Linked DNA regions of Homo sapiens: region 2 is linked to region 1. Evidence: promoter capture Hi-C in human tissues and cell types (Jung and others, 2019). All regions are on one chromosome and are shown on one strand. Each heading gives the region's core, a stretch centred on a gene start or on the middle of the fragment in contact. The rest is flanking DNA. Distances are from core to core; before and after follow the strand shown.

The links. The method cuts DNA at HindIII sites, captures the fragments that hold promoters and counts their contacts. A contact is called where the count stands out against the background at its distance.
Region 2: a contact is called between a fragment that was not itself captured here and the fragment with the promoter of CCT5 in region 1, in 1 of the 25 tissues and cell types used here (dorsolateral prefrontal cortex).

What each region holds. Positions count from the first base shown.
Region 1 is chr5:10,249,030-10,252,897 of GRCh38, forward strand. CCT5 (chaperonin containing TCP1 subunit 5) reads left to right here and starts at 1,251. Exons shown (of 11, transcript NM_012073.5): 1 at 1,251-1,416. The coding sequence starts at 1,312. It overlaps ATPSCKMT (ATP synthase c subunit lysine N-methyltransferase), which reads right to left and starts at 859. Exons shown (of 5, transcript NM_199133.4): 1 at 829-859. The coding sequence starts at 844. RefSeq lists silencers at 629-748, 759-818, 1,569-1,638, 1,709-1,848, 2,179-2,401. The HindIII fragment of the contact is 7,315 bases long and covers 1-1,759 here.
Region 2 is chr5:11,597,166-11,601,033 of GRCh38, forward strand. The region is part of intron 2 of CTNND2 (catenin delta 2); the gene reads right to left. Among named protein-coding and RNA genes, the nearest start is that of CTNND2, 310 kb to the right of the region's middle. The HindIII fragment of the contact is 5,530 bases long and covers 1-3,868 here.

The DNA.
Region 1 (3,868 bases), core at 1-2,500:
GACCTAGACGGGTACATCACTTGAGGTCAGCCGTTCGAGACCAGCCTGGCCACTACGGCGTTAACACCGTCTCTACTAAAAATACAAAAATTAGCGAGCGTGGTGGTTCTGTGCCTGTAGTCCCAGCTGCCTGGGAGGCTGAGGCACGAGAATCACTGGAACCCGGGAGGCGGAGGCTGCAGTGAGCCGAGACCGCGCCACTGCACTCCAGCCCGGGCTACAGTCTTGTCTCAAAAAAAAAAAAAAAAAAAAAGAGTGTGGGACCCATTGCATCAGGCTGTGTAACTGTTTCTTACTAGCTGTATACCAGTGGCAAGTTACTGAACCATTTGTGCAAAATGTTAATTTATTTACCAACACTGTGTTCAGCTTGCCAGGCACCGTTCTCCTTGAATCTCACAGCAGCCCTGTGAGTAGGCACTACTGTTACCACCGTCACTTTGCAGACAGGGAACCCGAGGGACAAAGAAGTTAAGGGATTTCCTCAAAGCCACAGCTAGGAAGAGCGGCAGAACTGCGATTCCAATCCATCAGTGTGCCTCCACTATCCCTATTCCTTAAGATCGTGCCAAAGGCTGAGTCACTTGCACTAAGTAGCCTAGAACAGTCTCTGGGGAAACGCGCCCGCCGACAAGGATCGCCAGAACCGGCGCGGGCACCGCGCGGCGACCAGGAGCTCTGGTCACCGAAGGCCAGGCTGGAGGCCAGAGCAGCCGCCCGCACCCGGTCACCGCCTCGACAGTGGAGACCTCAGCTGACCGCGAGCCCCCGGCCCGCCCGCACCCCTTCTCATGCCCCCAGGAACCCGCCAAGCCGCTCCAGCCTCACCTCCTCCTCCCTCCATCGCGAGATTTCCAACAGCGTTTTTAAAAAAAAAAAAAAAAAAAAAAAAAAAAAAAAAAAAACCGGAAATGGGTCCTACCATCTTCTCGGAGCCGGAGTGCGAAGAAATAAAGAAATAGTGCTTTAAGTCAATGAATTCCTCCTTGGGACCCACTATCGAGAAACTATCAGTGGTAACGTTTTAAAAAATGACAAATTCAATCTGCTCTTGACTTGTGTGTCCTAAGATTTCCACTAAGTGTCTTCAAACCTCCCCCTCCCCGGCTTCCTGGATAATAGAAGTTCCCGAAGGCCGCCGATTCCAGAAGATACTGTCTGGCGTGAAATTAGTCTCAGTAGAAACATAAGTCCCGCGCGTCTTGTGCTGCGCGTGCGCAAGCTTTTGGGCCCTCCCGAGAAAGGGAAGTGCATTCTCGCTTCCGTAGCGGTCTCCGCCGGTTGGGGGGAAGTAATTCCGGTTGTTGCACCATGGCGTCCATGGGGACCCTCGCCTTCGATGAATATGGGCGCCCTTTCCTCATCATCAAGGATCAGGACCGCAAGTCCCGTCTTATGGGACTTGAGGCCCTCAAGGTAATGGCACAGGGACCTGCTCGCGGTGGGCTAAGGGGAGGTGGCCGAGGCCGTGGCTCTGCGCCTGCGCGAGTTGAGGAGCGGCTCTGCCATGTGCTCCCCGGAAAGGTCGAGAATCTCCGTCTCCCTGCGGTCTCCGGCCGCTCAGCCCGCTTACTGAGCTCGGGAGACGCCGGCGCCTAATCCTGGGCTCGGAATGTGGGGGCCAGCCAGGCTGGGCCGCCAGCGCCCTTCGGAGCTGGGTGGGGCCGCTCAGTCCGGTCGCCCGCGGGAGCAAAGCGGGACCGCCTCCCCGCCCGGCTCCTCCAGCCTGACGGCCGCGTGGGACTGCGCTCCAGTGGGAGGGCGCCGGGGAGATGCTCTGTCACCTGTCGGTTAAGGCGCTGCTGCTTAACCTTTCGCTGGTCCACCCGCAACGGCCCTTCCGTTTTCTTTGTCACTCGTAAAGGTGTGGTCACTTAACAGGGTATTTCATTTCTGAGTGCTTTTTTGCCCACCCTTGAGGAAAAATAGCGAAGAGTGAAAAACGGACGCACATAACCGTAATACAAGGTGGTGTGCAGTGAGAAGGACAGCTACGGAGAGGGTGCACATAAGCGTGGTGCTGGAGGACAGCTTTAGATCGGGGTGAGAGGTAGCATTCTAGGGAGAGGAAACGGTAGAAGTAAAGGCTTGGGCAAGAATGCGCATGGCACGTTGTAGAATGGAAGAGCCATCCGGTTTTAATGGAGCACTGACTTCTTTAACTTACAATAGTTCCCGAAGGTGGAAGCTATTGAATGCCCAACATGGAAAATACGACGTTATCTTTGGGGAAGAAGGGGAGCCATTGAGGGGGTTTTGAGCAGAATTTCAGTAGAGCTGCACTTCAGGCAGCAAAGCTTGAGATAGACCGAAGGGAATAAGGAAGACCAGAGGGGTTAAAGAAACCAGGGCAGGGGTGCAGGTAAGAAACATCTGAGCACCAGACGTTGACAGAAAATGCAGAGGAAGGGACACTCCGAGAGGGCCTTCAGGGTTTGTTATAAAGTGAATTCATAATAGACCATTCCACTAGGTCTCTCAGGTGTCCCTGTTCACTTAGTGTCTTGGAGGTTTACTTACGCAAAGTTAGAAACAATACAGTTCCCCTATGGACTCTTTGTTTGACTTAGTGCTAGTTACACAACCTCGCGGAACCTCCTTTTCCAGGGGGAGGTGATAGGCCTCCGTCAAGCTGAAGACTTGACAGTGATATTAAATGGAGTGACTTAGAGGGGCTGCACAGTGGTTGATCCACGGTAGGCACTCAGTATTTGTTTCCTTTCTAGAAAGAAAAAGTTTCAAGCTAATTGTATTATGTATTCCATTTTATTTTCCACTTAACAGGGACCTGCAGAGAAAATAACATCCAATACACACACCTGGTGTAACAACATAACTAAAACTAGGTTGTTTTGCATCAGCCATTTTGTTCAAACTGCATGCATTTGTGCCCAGAAGTCGCACACTCTGAGACAGGGTTATTTTACAAAACTGGGGACTTGGGCCCAGAGCAGTTGAGAAATTGTTCTGAAGAGCAGTTGCTACTAAAGAGCATTACCATGGTCAGGGCCACCGCTGTCAGAGTCAAAGCCAGTGGTCTAGAGCAGCATTCTCAAGTTTGGCATATTGACATTCGAGGTCGGATCATTCTTTGCTGTGGGAGCTCATTTGGACAGTAACCTGGGTGTTTAAGTCTCTTAAAAGAGTTGGATGCTGTTGGTAGGCATCCTGTGAGTGTTGAGGCTCAGCAGTTTAGGGATATACACTTGCTCCCTGACCTCATAGAACGTCCAGCTAACTTGAAGAACCAAAATATATGGAAATTGAAGGCAACGGTAAAAGAAATGTATAGGCCAGGACGTGAACGTTTTAATGGTAATGGTCACAGTTCTTTCTCTCTGGTCATTTAGAGCCTTAAAGGTAATATGTATTTTGTTGAGATTCTTCACTTGTTTAACACTTAACTGTATAATATTTCACCTTAAAAATGCAGGCATTGACTGGGCGCGGTGGCTCACGCCTGTAATCCCAGAACTTTGGGAGGCTGAGGCAGGAGAATCGCTGGAACCTGGGAGGCAGAGGTTGCGGTGAGCCGAGATCACGCCACTGCACTCCAGCCTGGGTGACAGAGTGAGACTCCGTCTCAAAAAAAAAAAAAAAAAGGTGCAGGCATTAGTTGGCTTAGGAAGGAATCATATTCTAAAATCCTGTAACCTAAAACAGAGCAGGCTAAGTTTCCAGGCCAGCCAGCATAATTCTGTTTTATCCATAATATGTATTATGCCTTGATGTTTGATACTCTTCCCTCTGGAAACACACAGAACTAGCAGAAGGAAGAAAAAGGTTTTTTCCACGTTGCCGAGCAGTAGGGCAAAATAGATCTCGGGATTTCGGGATCTCTCCTATTTGCCAAATTCTTTACATCCTT
Region 2 (3,868 bases), core at 986-3,485, 1.3 Mb after region 1:
TTTTGAAGACTTTTCTGTAAGACTTGTTGAATATACCTCTATTTCCGAACAGTGCCTATACATTGGTATCTTAAAAATGGGGCCCTTCCGTGTATGTTACAGCTTAAGTTCGTTCTAGAACTGATATTGCATTATTTGAAATCAATGTTTAGGTGTCCACAGGCTTTGCTTACAGCTTTGTAAAGGTCTTAAATACTGAGTTTGCTCCCTTTATTACCCAGTCAATCTGGAATGAGATGATTCCTTGGTATTTCAAAGCTGCTGACATATCTGATGGACTGGATGAAAATTTAAGGCTCATTTAGCTCTACAGATTTATGTTATGTTCTCTATTTCTTGCTCTAAGCTTACAATTTGCCTTAGCCAATAATGTGCTTTTCTTAATTCATCAATGAGCAGTCCGAATTAGGGAATATTCTTTTTTTTTTTTGAAACAGAGTGTCAGTCACCCAGGCTTGTGTGCAGTGGTGTGATCACTGCTTACTGCAGCCTTAACCTCTCAGACTCAGGTGATCCTCCCACTGTAGCCTTCCAAGTAGATGGGACTACAGGTGTGGTCCACCATGCCCAGCTAATTTTTGTATTATTTGTAGAAAAGGATTTAGCCATGTTGCCCAAGCTGATCTCAAACACCTGGGCTCAAGTGATTCGTCTGCTCCGTACTGAGACTATGGGCATGAGCCACGAAGCCTGGCTTGGAATAGTCTTTGAAAATATAATAATAACAATGAAGATAAGTAGAGCTGGTATTTTATTGAGAAGTCAACTCACCACTGGATAATGAGGACAACTCATTTCCTATATCACTGAAATTACCCTTTTCCATATTCTCATGTGATAAAAATAGCTGTATTTTTGTTGTTGTTGTATCCAAAAAGCAGTTTAGCCTTAAAGTAAAATGTTATCATTGTTTCTGTGTACATCCAATGAGGCAAGTTATTATTATCTCATTTTATAAATGAGGAAACAGATTCAGAGAGGTTAAATAATTTGTCCAAAATCATGTTTGTGTTCTTAACCACTAGACAGACCTATCTATAATCATTTATAGTTTTAAGTTTGTCTTCTAGGAGCCATGGCTAACAACCACCACATCATGTTCTTATTGGGTTTGTATAATAATGATAAATCAGATTCTCCATCCCTCTACACCACAACCAAGGGGGATACGTGCTGATGAGGAGAAATTCCAGCTTCCTCAGAATCAGGTAAGTTTCTAGGTGTGCCAGGACTCCAGGGGGGTCTCCTACCCAGTAATCCCACTAAGCGATTCTTTACCACCATGGTTTTGTCAACCATTCTAAAGGTAATCAAGGTTGATATTGTATACACATTTTAAAATCCTTTATCTGATTACATTTAAATGGTATAGTGTTGTGCCTCCTTAAATAAGAGGAAACACCTATCACCTTTCTTTTCATTAAGCCTCCTATGAGAGGGTTTACAAGTTGAGGGAAAGGAGGAAGTGTCTATTTCTTATAGTCTTAATATACGAATTGAAGATGAAGAGCTGGGAAAATATATCTTCTCCATGAAAACTGATGAAAAATATGAGACTTAACCAAAAGATTTCACAAACAACTGTAAGTATAAAACTTTAATATTTATTATAGTGAAACTCATTAACAGCTGGGTCAGAAAACATGAAAAGGAAGTAAGCATCTTGTATTAGTGCATTCTCACGCTGCTATCAAGAACTACCTGAGACTGGGTAATCTATTAAAAAAAAGATGATTAATGGACTCACAGATATGCATGGCTGGGGAGCCTCAGGAAACTCACAATTACGTCAGAAGGCGAAGGGGAAGCAAGGCATGCCTTACATGGCAGCAGGAGAAAGAGAGTGAGCAAGCAGGGAACTGCCACACACTTTTAAACCATCAGATCTCATCAGATGTCAAGAGAACTCTATCACAAGACAGCACCAGGGAGATGGTGCTAAGGCATTTGAAACCACCCCCATGATCCAGTCATCTCCTACTAAGCCCCACCTTCAACACTTGGAAATTACAATTCCACATGAGATATGAGTGGGGACACAGATCCAAATCATAACACATCTAGAGCAACATCAAAAATGTATGGGACAATCTACTTAGGCAGTTCATGATAACATAGCAATATTTCCTGGAAAACTAAAAAAAATTAATAATAAGGGTTAAAGGAGGAAAGTTAACTATTCTAGTAAACTTCATCTTGAACAGGTATTTCATTTCTAATAGATGTTTTTGGAAGCTTGTGTCTTCTAGAACTTTTCTGTAGTTATAAATACATTTACACATATTTAATGACCATTTTTGGAGTTTTGAAAAAGTAACTCCTTTTGTGTATGAAATTTTGAAGTTGCCCGCAATAGTTCTTGCCATATATAGCATTTCTTCTCAAACATGACATCCATGACTGGCAAAGGATTTGGGTTTTTTTGCTTGTTTGTTTGCTTTTGCTAGTTCTTAAAATCCCAAACAAGTAGAACTTGTACTTATTCATGAGGTCCACGTAGATCAAAGGTTAGATTTATACCCGTGAGTACAATTCAGTGAAAAGTCAGGAAAATAGAAAAGTGATTGCGAAAATGGAGTTTAGACTTTCCCTTGGGGTTCTCAGACCAGGAAGCTTGCTATTCTGGTGATGAGAAATGGCACACTGATTTGGCTATCTAATTTCTTGAGAGTCTTATTGCATGCCCAGGAACCATAAAAGTGGAAGTTTCTTCTGCTCTTCTGTCGGCATTCTATGGCCATAGAGTTAATACTTGGGTTACACTCAGGAATCCGAGTTAAGAAGTGCCTCCAAAATGCATCAAGGTACCTACTTTTAGCAAGTCCCAAATATTGAGACCACAAATGGTCTTTATCCAATTCTAAAGCAAAACTATAAATATGGATCTGAATTTAAATTGTCTATGATTAAAATATGTGACTTAAATTTCCATTCCTCCATCTACCATCTAGAGTTTTCCTCAGCTGACACTGTCAGTGTTGGAGGCAATCACTGAAGTATTTACCTGCTTACAGAATTACATACCTATGCTAATACAGCAAGTGTGTGGACACACTGTTTTGTCAAGTATGGGAAAAACATTTGCTGACACCTAAATTCTAAGCAGTATGTGAAGTACACTAAAACTAAAAAAACAAAACAACAAAAAAAATTTTGTATTATATGTATCAACTATTTTCCACAGATATATTAAGTATATTGTGTGTTATAGGTGAACAATTGTACCAACATGTGTGCAAATTTTTTATATGAAGATTAGGCCAGGCATAGTGGCTCACGCCTGTAATCCCAGCACTTTGGGAGCCTGAGGCAGGTGGACCACTTGAAGTCAGGAGTTCGAGACCAGTTTGACCAACATAGTGAAACCCCATCTCTACTAAAAATAGAAAAATCAGCCCAGTGTGGTGGTGCATGCCTGTAATCCCAGCTACTTGGGAGGCTGAGACAAGAGAATTGCTTGAACCTGGGAGGCAGAGGTTCCAATAAGCCAAGATCACACCAATGCACTCCAGCCTGGGCAACAGAGCAAGATTCTGTCTCAAAAAAAAAAAAAAAAAAAAAATGAAGACTAGCCCAGGAAATTGTATTTCAAAATTATTGGGCAGAACACTCCCAGACAACGATGTTAGTAAATTAGCTTAGTAGTAATAAATAGCACAGAAATCAGAAGGTAATGAGAGCATTGGTGGTAAAAATGTGGTGGGAAGAAGGTACCAGTAGACATTGTGAAGTCATCCATGAGTGCTTGCCTCCCAGTGAGAAGGCAAGCTCACAGGTAAAGAGCTAAACTAAATGAAATGAATCCAAAGAATTCTAAATCTGACAAATATTCTAATTTGACTTGCATAAAACAGCAAGGTTTTTTTTT